Regions from separate parts of the Homo sapiens genome. Here regions 1 and 3 are each linked to region 2. The links are contacts of gene promoters, found by promoter capture Hi-C in human tissues and cell types (Jung and others, 2019). All regions are on one chromosome and are shown on one strand. The core of a region is centred on a gene start or on the middle of the fragment in contact, and the rest is flanking DNA. Distances in the headings are between cores, read along the strand shown.

What was found. Contacts are between HindIII fragments. The study calls those that stand out against the background at their distance.
Region 1: a contact is called between a fragment that was not itself captured here and the fragment with the promoter of GLYAT in region 2, in 2 of the 25 tissues and cell types used here (adrenal gland and neural progenitor cells).
Region 3: a contact is called between a fragment that was not itself captured here and the fragment with the promoter of GLYAT in region 2, in 1 of the 25 tissues and cell types used here (neural progenitor cells).

The regions. Positions count from the first base shown.
Region 1 is chr11:58,776,079-58,780,342 of GRCh38, forward strand. No RefSeq gene overlaps it. Among named protein-coding and RNA genes, the nearest start is that of GLYAT, 46 kb to the left of the region's middle. The HindIII fragment of the contact is 7,492 bases long and covers 1-4,264 here.
Region 2 is chr11:58,728,941-58,733,206 of GRCh38, forward strand. GLYAT (glycine-N-acyltransferase) reads right to left here and starts at 3,003. Exons shown (of 6, transcript NM_201648.3): 1 at 2,895-3,003. The HindIII fragment of the contact is 13,891 bases long and covers 377-4,266 here.
Region 3 is chr11:58,686,134-58,690,619 of GRCh38, forward strand. No RefSeq gene overlaps it. Among named protein-coding and RNA genes, the nearest start is that of GLYAT, 44 kb to the right of the region's middle. The HindIII fragment of the contact is 6,138 bases long and covers 1-4,486 here.

The DNA.
Region 1 (4,264 bases), core at 245-2,744, 46 kb after region 2:
GAAAAAGAGTCTGAAGAAATGTGTTTACAAAAATAAGTACTTGGAAAAAATAAATACTACCATTAAAAGGACATTGAAATAGGGAGCTGGAAAGAGAATGAATGGCCCCTTGAAAGAATTAACAAATACTATGTACCAGCCACCTGGGCACAAAATGGGTCATGGAGATACCATACTCCTATTTATATGTTAAGTTGCATCACAAGGTTGCAAGCAGTTCTGGAAATTATAGTCATTGAAACAGCCTGAGCCTTAGACTTGCTAGCCATACAGGCGACCCAGATGAGAGATGCCATTTATCAGAACAGGTTAGCCCTGGATTATCTTTTAGCTTCAGAAGGAGGAGTTTGTGGAAAACTTAATTTAATGAATTGCTTTTTACAAATTGATGACAATGGAAAAGCTGTCATGAAAATCACTGCCAGGATGCTAAAGTTAGCTCATGTTCTGGCCCAGATGTGGTCTGGTTGGAACCCGAGTTCACCCTTTGGAGGATGGTTTTCATGGTTTGGAGGCTTTAAAACTTTAATAATAGGCTTTGTGGCCATAATAGGTGTATGCCTCCTGCTTTCTTGTCTCCTGCCACTTCTCATCAGAAGCATCCAATCCACCATAGAAGCAATAGTAGCCAGACATACCACCACATGAATAGTGGCTCTGCAAAAGTACCAACCAGTATCCCAAGATGAGTATGTACCCACTCAAGAAAAAATAGCTAACTGTGGTTCTCTTTACTAATCTACATTTGTGTCATGCACCAAAAGGGGGGAATGAAGAAGGAATTAATGAAATCAACTATAACCTAATAGTAGTAGTAATAGAAGTTTTAAAATCCTCTTAAAGTTGCTGCAAAGTGTGACCTCCCCTTACACTCAAGTTACAAGGGAATATTAACAGCCTGTCTTCTCTCTGTGGACAGTGGACCTTATCTATGCTCCCCAACTCCACATTCTTCAAAGTTTATTACAGGCCCAGCGAGTTCCTGCACGACTGCAGGGTCACAAGACCGATAAGTTTAGGTTGCAAGTCATGTCTTTCTCAAAATGTAAGAAATGTTGCAATGCCGCCGTTGTTTCTTGCTTCTGTAACTTGCTTCCTGCTTCACGTAGTTCCTGCCTTAAGATATTTAAAAGTAGTAGAAGCTCTTTCTTCGGGGCTCAGGCTTTCTGGACACATGTCCGTCTGGGCTGGTGATCACCTTAATGGACTCTCCTGAACATTTATCGATCTCTTTGGTCTTTGATTGTCTCACAACAAAGATTGGTTCTTTGATTTAACTTCGTCAGACAAAAATAAAAAAGAATGAACAAAACCTTGAGATATATGGGATTATATAAAGAGACCAAACCTATGACTCATTGGCATCCCTAAAAAAGAGAGTAAGCAAGTTGCAAAACATTGTCCATCAAAATCTCCTCAACCTAGTTAAACGGGTTGACAAAGAAATTTAGGAAATTCACAGAACCCCTGCAAGATACTATACAAGATGATCATCCTTGAGACATATAGTCATCGGATTCTCCAAGGTCAATGCAAAAGAAAAAATATTAAAGGCAGCTAAAGAGAAGGGGCATGTCACCTACCCACAAGGGGAACATCATCATGCCAGCAGAAAACTTTTCAGCAGAAACTCTAAAAGGCAGAAGAGATTGGGGGCCTATATTCAGCATTCTTGAAGAAAAGAAATTCCAATCAAGAAGTTCCTATACAGCTATACTAAAATTCATGAGCAAAAGAGAAATAAAATGCTTTTCAGACAAGCAAATGTTAAGGGAATTTATTACCAGACCTGACTTAAAAGGAGTCCTTAAGGGAGCACTACACATGGAATCAAAAGACCATTACTGGCCACTGCAAAAACGCAGTGAAGTACACAGCCCATTGACACTATAAAGGAACTACACAATCAAGCCTACATAACAACTAGTTAACAACACAATAACAGAATCACATCCACACATATCAGTATTAACTTTGAATATAAACAAGTTAAATGATTCCACTTAAAGGGTGCAGAGTGGCAAATTAGATAAAGAAGTAAGACCCAACTATATGCTCTCTTCAGGAGATCCATGTCACATATAATGACAATCATAGGCTCAAAGTAAAGGGATGGAAGAAGATCTATCAAGCAAACAGAAAACAAAAAAAGGGTTACTATTCTTATCTCAAAGTACATTTTAAACAAACCATGATCAAAAGGATAAAGAAGGACATTACATCATGATAAAGGGTTCAATTCAACAAGAAGACTTAAATAGTATACATATTACATATTATTTATTATTTAAATATATTTAATATTATATACTAAATATTATATATAGATGTATATCTATTCTCTATACATATATATATATATATATATATATCTAACACCGGAGCACCCAGATTTATGAAACAAGTTCTTAGAGACCTGTGAAGAAACTTAGATAACCACAAAATAATAGTGGGAGATTTCAACACCCCACTGACAGTATTAGACAAATAATTGAGGCAGAAAACTAACAAGAATATTCAGAATCTAAATTCAATGGTTGACCAAATAGACTTCACAGACATCTACAGAACATACCACTTACCACTCCAAACAAGAGAATATACATTCTCCTACTCTGCACATGGCACATACTCTAAAATCAACCACATTCTCAGCCATAAAGCAATTCTCAACAAATTCAAAAATAACCAAATCATACCAACCACAGTATCAGATCACAGCACAATAAAAATAGAAGTCAATACCAATGAGATATCTCAAAACCATATATTTAAATGCAAATTAAATAACCTGCTCCTGAATGACTTTTGGGTAAACAATAAAATTTAGGCATAAAGCAATTTTTTTGAAACTAATGAAAACAAAGATACAACATATCAGAATCTCTGAGATATAGACAAAGCAGTGGTAAGAGAAATGTTCATAGCACTAATTATCCACATCAAAAAGTCAGAAATGTCTCAAAATAACAGCTTGACATCACACCCAGAGGAACTAGAAAAACAAGGGCAAACCAAACCAGAAGCTAGCAGAAGAAAAGAAATGAACAAAATCCAAGCTGAACTGAACAAAATGGAGATGTGAACAAAACATACAAAAAGATCAGTAAAACCAAAAGTTGGTTCATTGAAAGAATAATAAGATTGATACACCACTATCTAGGGTAATAAAAAAAGAGATAAGATCCAAATAAATGCAAGCAGAAATGATGAAGGAGGACATTAGCACTGCTCCCATAGAAACACAAAAACCCTCATAGACTATTATGAACACTTCTATGCATACAGACTAGAAAACATAAAGAAAAAAAAAGATAAACTCCTGGAAACATACAATCTCCCAAGATTGTATTAGAAAGAAGTTGAAACCCTTAACCAACCATTAACAAGTTCCAAAACTGAATCAGTAATAAAAAATCTACTGCATTAGTCTGTTCTCATGCTGCTAATAAAGACATACCCAAAACTGTGTAATTTATAAAGAAATTTCAATGGACTCACAGTTTCACATGGCTGAGAGGCCTCACAATCATGGCAGAAAGTGAAGGAGGAGAAAAAAACACGTCTTACATGGTGGCAGACATGAGTGCATGTGCAGAAGAACTGTCCTGTATAAAACCATCCCATATCATGAGACTTATTCACTATCATGAGAACATACATAAGAAACCCACTGCCATGATTCAATTACCTCCTACCAGGTCCCTCCCAGGACAAATCAGGATTATGGGAGCTACAAATCAAGATGAGATTTGGGTGGGTACACAGCCAAACCATATTATTCTGCCCCTGGCCCCTCTCAAATCTCATGTCCTCACATTTCAAAACCAATCATGCCTTCCCAACAGTCCCCCAAAGTCTTAACTCATTTCAGCATTAACTCAAAGTCTGCAATCCAAAGTCTTATCTGAGACAAGGCAAGAACTTTCTGCCTATGAGCCTATAAAATTGCAAGCAAGTTATTTTCTTTCTACATACAATGGGGACTACAGGCATTGGTTAAATACACCCATTCAAAATGGGAGAAATTGGCCAAAACAAAGGGCCTCAGGCCTCATGCAAGTTCAAAATCCAATAGGGTACTCATTAAACCTTCAAGTTCCAAAATGATCTCCTTTGACACCATGTCTCACATCCAGGTCATGCTGATGCAAGAGGTAGGCTCCCATGGCCTTGGGCAGCTCTGACCCTGTGGCTTTGCAGGGTACAGCTCCCTATCTGCCTCCTTTTACAGGCTGGAGTTGAGTGTCTGCAGCTTTTCCAG
Region 2 (4,266 bases), core at 1,753-4,252:
GGAAGGAGAGAATAAAAGAAAAGAAAGGAAGGAAGGAAGAAAGGAAGGAAGGAAGTTCCTAGAGTCTGGCTAATTACTGATCTGAGCATATATAAAAAGAAACTACCTTAATACCTTAGCCCATGGATTCTACCTCTACCATCTGAGTCTAGTCTACCCTTCTAGCCTCTTCTGTTGCTACCATCCACCATGTAAGACCACAGTGGATTTCTTCAACACAGTGTCTGCTTAGCACCTCTGGTCTTTCTACATTTATTCTCAGTTTGAAATTTCCTACTTCAGTTCTGCCTTCTAAATTAGGCTTCCACTTACCCCTTCAAGTTTACCCGAATAGCCTGTTATCCCTAGTGCTCTTTTCACTGTCTCTTACGTCCGTCTGAATAAGTCACTCCCTTTTCTGTGCTCTCATAAGTGTTTATGCATATTTTAATTATATAACTTGTTATGTTGGGTTAAAGTTTTCTTCTTTCAATTGATAAATATCGTATATATTTATGCTGTTCAACATGATGTTTTAAAGTTGAATTTCGTTTTCTTTTCTAGATGTTGAATTCTTCTGAGGCAGGATGCTCATATTACTTATTCTTTTATCAGTAATTCTTATCACAGTATTTGGCACAGAGTAGGCCCTCAATACATAAGTAACGAATGATTGAATACATGAAATGCTTGTATTAATTGTCTGTCTAATCACTCCACTTTCCAAAAGTATAGAGACATTAATATATTCATTCAATAAACACATATGTATTAAATGCATAATATATTCTGGACATGAGAAAAGTTTCCAGCTATTTTGTACTACATTATATCTTGAAGAAAACTCCAGACCATATCTCATATCTAAGGGTCTTAGGATGATAAAAGTATAACATTCCTAAAGGCTAATCTTGTCTTTTCTCTAGATGCAACTCAGAAGGAAGTAACAAAGTAGAGTTAAAGTAGAGCTTAATGTCAAGTCTGTGGGGTGTGATATTACTATATTTTCTGAAGAGTAGAGTTTGGAACCACCCTCTAAGGATGTACTTACAAACTAACAAAGAGGTATGGCTCTCATGCTTGGTTGGGGTAAACTGAAAGCTACTGACACTGAGGTTCTTCCAAGAAATCTGACACAATAATGGTAGCTGGCAGCACTGGGCAATGAGTAGCATTCCCGGGCATAAACTTCAGAATCTTTGATCCTGGTCCAGTTATTACAGAAATGGAAATTAATCTAAAGAAAACAATTTAAAAGAAGAAAACAACTCTAGGCTGAGCATGGTGGCTTGCACCTGTAATTCCAGCACTTTCAGAGGCCAAGGAGGGAGGATTAATTGAGGGCAAAAGCTTGAGACCAGCCTGGTCAACACAGCAAGACCCCAATCTCTACAAAAATAAAAATTAGTTGGGTATGGTGACACACACCTGTAGCCCTAGCTACTCAAGAGGCTAAGGTGGGACGATTCTAATAGTTTTCATCATGCCATGCAAGTAATTTGCTGTTTTGTGTAAGCAGAAAAAAAGAATACATTCTGCAAATCAGACCTCATTCAGATCTTTCCCACTACCTTGCTTTTACTGCAGCTACTTGAATGGGAAGGAGAGGAAGATTATGCCTACATAATCTGACCACAGTCTCACAGAGTGAGTTTTGTTACAACTCTTCCAGAAATTTCTGAGTTGCAGCTTGTAATGCAGACCTTGTACTAAGTTGGCAAAAAATTCTGATGTCAGTTCCAGTGGAATCTAACCCTGGACTCACTTGAGCCCACAGCAAGTTAAAGGTTACAATGAGTTATGTTCATACCACTGCACTCCAGTCTGGGTAACAGAGTGTCTCTAAATACAAAACAAAACAAAAACTCTAAACAGAATTTTATAAAGTCACATGAACATAAGCAAGTCTGAACAAAATCTCTATGTGCCTCAATAGGGGAAGATAACATAAAATATGTTCCAACAGAGTGATGCAACCCTAAGGCATTAACATAATGCCTACAGACATAATATATAATATGTATAGACACATGGGAGAGTGTTCAAATAAAATGAGAAAATATAGGACACAAAACAGTTCACATACAACACATAAAGTTCAAATTTAAGAGAGAACAAAGGCAAACAGGAATAAATAAGTAAATGGTGGTAGTACTGTTGTAGATTAAATCTTTAGAGTAAAATTTGTTTTCTGTATAATTTAAATAAACAATAAATCTTGTCTGTATTCTTGTCTTATTGATCTACTTATTTCCTCTCTCACTTTCAGTGCAACAAACTTCTTAGTAGTAGTGTAAGGAAAAAACTGCCTCCCTTATAATGTGACCAGGATTAAAAATAGTAATTTTTCTGGTGTCTCCACACACTCAGTATTCTATTCATCCACCTGCTTCCAAGAAGCTCTCAGATCTTTCTTTATTCATTTATTAGTCGAGAGCACAAACTTCTAAGGATTTTCATGGTAGCTAGCAAACTGCCATTGACAAAATAGTTGTCAGATATGTGTTTCTTAAGTGGAAGTTACTCCTTTTCCTTGAGCATAGTTGTCTGCATATTCTGAGCATAACACAATACGGGCACTTTAATTTGACTCACTTAAGTGGAAGAGGTGTCACAAAGCAATAATTACATTAAAAAAATAAATTTTATTGTGGATATTTAAAGTATACAATATGATGTTATGAGAGCATACAGATAGTGAAAACATTACCATTATGAAGCAAATTAATATATCTATTACTTCACATAGTTACTTATTTTTTGTCGTTGTTTTTATGTAAAGAGCAGCTAAACTCCACTCATGTAGCATGGATCCCATATACAATGCAATTCTATTAACTATAGTTCTCATGTTGTACATTAGATCTCTAGACTTGTTCATCCTATGTATCTGATACTTTGTAATGAGTCCTCACCTGAAAAGCTAGTCTCTGCAGATGTTTCCGGGAAGAAACGATGAGCAACACCCTTCTGGGAGATGAAATTTCTCCCTGATGCAGCCAGTTCAGCAGAGTCTCGCAGAGTAAATTTTGATACACCACCTCCAGAAATTTCTGAGCTTTGGCTTGTAATGTGGACCTTGTACTAGGCTGGCAAAAGAATCTGGTGTCAGTTCTAGTGGAATTCAGCCCTGCCTCTCACGGGCCCATGTTGAAGTAATTGGCTCTGCATGGTTGAGAGGCTGGCTGTATGCCCCTGAGCTTCTCTTTTTAAAACATCACAATGCTTTTTGTCCTCACAGGTCATGGAAATACCATGAAAACCAAAGCTGTGTGAAACCAACAGGCCAGATACTGGAAGGAGGGTCAGATTATGTAGGCACTACCCTCACCTCTTTCCCATTCAAGTATCTGTAATAGAAGCAAGGCAGTGGGAAAGATATGAATGATATCTGATTTGCAGAATGCAATAAAATAGCAAATTACTTGCATGGAGTGATGAAAGCTGTTAGAATCTTCCTTTTTAAAGACAAGTTGTGCCCCCTCCCATGCCCATTTTGAAGCTGCAGTGAAACATTCTGACAATGATTCAATGTGAGCACTTCTTAGTCTCACTTTTATAGAGAAGGACCATTGAGATCTCAGCATGGTTGAACTGGTTAGATGTTAAGCCCAGAGCTTTTTCACTCCGAAGTCCTAATTACTATACTTTCCACTTGCTCAGAAAAGAAAGGAGGGTTCACAGCAAAGATAATTTGAGCCTCAATTTCACTGTGTAAAACAGCCAAGATGGGGAGTTTGACACTCTCCAGGTCCTTGTTCTCACCACCTCATTCCCAGGTTAGTAAATATCTTTATTGTAGAGGAAGCAACAGACACTCTAATCAGAGGAGCAGGGACACAAGAGGCTAGGTTGAGAAAGAGGGACAAAAAGTGTGTGTGTGTTCCTTCACTTAATGGATCAGCACAGAGCAAGTTTTCACATATTTTTCTCTGTACTGTCTAGGAGCCCTGCCACTCCTAGAACATTAATTCTCCATCTTTTCCCCTGAGATTGAAGTCATTATAACCTTCCATTACTCTTTCTTCAAAGCGACTGAGATTGTTCTATCATTTATTAACCCGGTGGATCTCTTGACTCCAATAGGGTTCATATCTCACAAAGGATATATCTAACTGCAACAAAAGAGTGGGGTACTCCTTTATCCCAAGCCCAGAAACCAGACCCCTCCTATTCTGTCACTTTAGCTCCTACACTCACACAGCCAGGCAATAGACCAGGATTCAGTGGTGTCTCTCACCCTCAAATCTTTGACTAGAGTCTCTTAACCTCCCTGGGCTGTTGCCC
Region 3 (4,486 bases), core at 234-2,733, 44 kb before region 2:
TAGTTTACAACTCTGCCTTAACCTTCATTTCCTGTGTGTGTGCAGCCTCAAGGTCAATTGGATCGGAGATCTTGTTAGAGTCTTCTCGTACTTCCCTGGGCATGTCCACAGCTATATGCAAACATGTAGCCTTCTAGATTCTTAGAAATTTGTCAGAGCTTTCAAAGCTGTCTATGGACATCTCATCCCCCAGCTGATCCTTTTAAATGTTTTGTTTAGGTTTTTGTTTGCCCTAAATATCGTTGCCATGTCAGGCAGCTATGATGTATTAATCGATGCTGACTGTTTTCAGCAGATGACTGGGGGAAATGGCTTTGCACAGTAAGCAAGCCCTGACTAAGATCATCTGAAAAAAGCTGTGAGCGTTGGGGTTCACAGGGAACTGCCAGACATGTCAAATAGCAACAAACCTCTGAGAATATTGCTTTCAGGGAGCTCCAAACCCATACTGCCTGTCCAATAGTTGCTAGGCTCCTGGCTTTCACCATGATTGTAGGACTGTTGGTTTATACCACGGAGCTGCGGAGAGGCCACTACGGATAGGGCAAGTCACAATACCACAAAGCTCACTATTCTCAGAAAGTTTCAGCTGCTTTTTCAACAGGTCATGGACAAAAAAACAAACAGATTCAGCTGTTTCTCTGGAATAAATCTTCAGATTGTTGCAAATTTTTGGTTAATTTTTGGAGTTTTGGAAAATGTTTATTTTGGCTTTTTTCAGTGTTCTTGTCACTTTGATGAAGGAGAGGATTTTTAGAGGTCCTTATTCCATCATTCCCACTGATGTCACCCTCTAATGTCATTTATGCCATCCCTGAAAAACCACAGAGGTCTCTGGAGAAATTTTTTATATTTTTTATTATGTATTTATTTTTTTTAAAATAGAGACAGAGTCTCACTATGTTGTCCAGGCAGGTAAGAACTGCTGGTGTCAAGTGATTCTCCCAACTCACCCTCCCAAAGTGTTGGAATTACAGGCATGAGCCACCATGCCCAGCCTTCTGGAGAAATTTTTTCATGACCTTTTTGCACCTACTTTTATTTGTTTACTTTTAATTTTATTTTAGAAACAGAGTCTTGCTCTGTTACCCAGGCTGGAGTGCAGTAGCATGATCATGGCTAATTGCCACCTCAAAATCCTGGGCTCAAGTGATCCTCCCACCTCAGCCTCCCAAGTAACTGGAACTACAAGCCCATGCCATCTTGCCTGGCTAAATTAAAAACATTTTTCTTTCATAGGGACCAGGGTCTCACTATGTTGCCCAGGCTAATCTTGAACTGGCCTCAAGTGATCCTCTCACCTTGACCTCCCAAAGTGCTGGGATTACAGGCGTGAGCCAGTGTGCCCAGCCTTCATCCCATTTTTAATCCCTCTTTTCTAGATTCTTTTCTTCCTGGAAAGCTCCTTTTTCTCTTTACCAGATTATAATACAAAACAGGTAAAAATAAATGGGCTTATTTACCTGTAGCATTAAGAAAGAAAATGTCCTCATTAGAGTTCTTCTCAGCTGCTTAATCCGAGTTCAAGGTCCCCATCAGTGCTTTACTTCTCAGCACTGGCTTTTAGTCATCCAGGAGCAAGGCAATCTTTCCCTTGAAGTCAGCTACCTGCCTGTGCCACCAACTGTGCAGAAAACAATTTGAAACAAGGTAGACTAGGAAGTTCCCAGAAAGGTATGGGTAAAGTGCTGGAGAGTTTCAGAGGAGAGATAAATCATTTTCCAATCTAGTGTATTAAGGAAGGCTCTATGATAGGTGGAACACTGGAAGGTGTCTTTGAGGAATTTGTGCTTTTGAATATAGAGCAGTAGAAAGAGAAGGGTGGGAATGGGAGTGGGTGGGAGGGTGAGGAATTGAGGAAGAAACTTACTCAATTTGACATAGGGTTGGTAATGTCATTTTCAGATTTGCTGTGATCCCCTAGAAACCTTGTAGTTGTAGAATGGGATCAAAGTTTTCTTTTTGGCATTTATTTTAAAGAATAAGATTAAAAGCACTTATAGATTATGTAACACTTTGACAGAAAGCATCTCATTTGCTTTTGAATACAGCTCTGTGAATAAGCAGGACAGTAGTTCAGGTGGTCAAGTGATCACCTGAATGAGTCGAAGTTATTTCAGGGTAAAACTGGACCTCTAAACCTGTCCGTACCTCTGAATCCCATCTATTTTTCATGCCACTGCCTAGAACATCTCACCTACCTTTCTAAGAGGGACCTCCTGCAACTCCCTCAAGTGAATTGAGACTCTATTTTATATTGATTTGTAGCTACTTTCACTTTTCCCTTTAAAGCACCACAATTTTTTTTTTTTGAGATGGAGTCTTGCTCTGTTGCCCAAGCTGGAGTACAGTGGGATAGTCTCAGCTCACTGCAACTTCTGCCTCCCAGGTTCAAGCGATTCTCCTGCCTCAGCCTCTTGAGTAGCTGGGATTACAGGTGCACACCACTATGCCTGGCTAATTTTTGTATTTTTAGTAGAAAAGGGGTTTCACCATGTTGACCAGGCTGGTCTCAAACTCATGCCTTCAAGTGATCCACCTGCCTCAGCCTCCCAAAGTGCTGGAATTACAGCGTGAGCCACTGTGCCCAGCCCACAATTTCTAAGTATGCATTTATTTATGTGGTTGCACATGTGATATCTGTCTCTCTTATTAGACTATTTATTTATTAGATCTGTAAGGTCAGGGATTGCCTGGTTTGTACACCCTTGTATATCAAGGAGCATAGTGCCTAACACTGTACTCAGCAAATGTTTGTGGAATGTGTGCATTCTACCTACAGACTTCCCCTGAGTTCTCTCTGGACATACACATTCTCTTTTGTTTCCCTTATAGTGACTCAGTCCAGCTTAAATGAAGTGATTAAGAATGTGGCAGCTGCCAAGTCTCTCACTGTCTCATGATTGGAACGACTCACCTTTATGTCTGGAAACTGAAGAAACTTCTTCCTTCTCTGCTTAATGAAAAGAAAATGGCATCACATGTTGCTAAACCCGGTGACATGTGAGTGACATAAAAGCTACCTCAAACGGGCATGTGCACATACACACACACACATTCTGCATTTTAAACATCAGATGTGTCCCAGTGGAGTTGGCAGTCAAGAGAGTCACTGTAAAGATAATTCCATTTGCCTGCTGGTTCAATTAATCATATGAGAAGATCCTCATCCAACTGGTTAATCATAGTGAACGTAATTATTTACTGATGACACACTTTGTTCCTGTACTGTGCATACATTATCTCTTTTCATCCTGTCAAAGAAAAAAATATTCAATGATATTTGCAAAGCTTGGTAAGGAAGACTTCATTCAGGACTATTGCAATGGTATAGGGACCACTGCAATGGGACTTTGCCATAGGGGAGAGAGACTGGGGTTAACTCTGAATACTGCGTGGGCAAGTAGAAATTTTTACAGCCAAGAGCAGGGTGGAAGTCAGTGGATGGAAAATCACTCAGAAGAAATATCAGGAGTAAGGGGAATTTTGGCTAAACTGACCTAACAGAATTCTTGCTGAAGACAGGCCGAGCTGATGAGACATCACCTGGGGGATGGTGGAGGATGAAATATTGAGGGTGGTAGATTATTGCTAAACTGACTTAGCAAGGTTGTTTGATAAAACTGGATTTTATGAGGAAGCACACAGATGGGCCTAGCAGAAGGTTCAGGAGCATGACTAAATTTTGATTAAGCAGATAATCTTTGTCTATCCTCACAAACTTTCTGAGGATTACTCAGGTGAGCAGAATGGGCCTCAGAGAGCAAGAGGAACTTGCATGAGGTTACAAAGCAAGCACAAAGTAGGGCTAGAGTTGAGGTCATGTTCATCTGCTTCTAGGGCTCTCGAATTTAAGCTCCATTTTATTTATTTCTAGGTAATTTTCACGGGTGTCTGTCACTCCAGGGACTGTTTTTGGTTTATATAACTGAAAGTGCTTTTATCCTTTTGTATGTCATAGTTATTTGTCCAAAATGCTACAAATTCCAAAGCATTTCATACCCATTAACTTTATAGAGTCAGAAATAGAAGCTCAGATCTAGTAATTAACCTGGCAAAAGTTACTCAGTGGGTAAAGGATAGAGCTTTGGGTGGAAATTCAAGTCAGCCTGCCTGTAAGCTCATGATTCTAACTAGACATGCTGGGATTCTTCTGTACTGTCTCATTACTCAAACCCCTTTTCATACATCAGGTTAGCTCCAGGCTTTAAAAATTACATACAGCCAGCACTTCAGCAAGGTCCTTTGTATGCACTGAACCTTTTCTTCTGTTAAAACTTGGGATCACATTCTCATTCATTACAAAAAATATTCTGGATCTTATGTTTAAGATAAATAATGACAGCTCTATTTATGAGACCCCCTTGACCATATTTGGTTTAACTAGAAAATGTTAGTGTATTTATGAAAATCAGAGGACAAAAGGCAGAGAACTAGTATGGGGTATGGAGAAGTGTGCACTAATTTCGCCTGTGCTTCAAGCTAC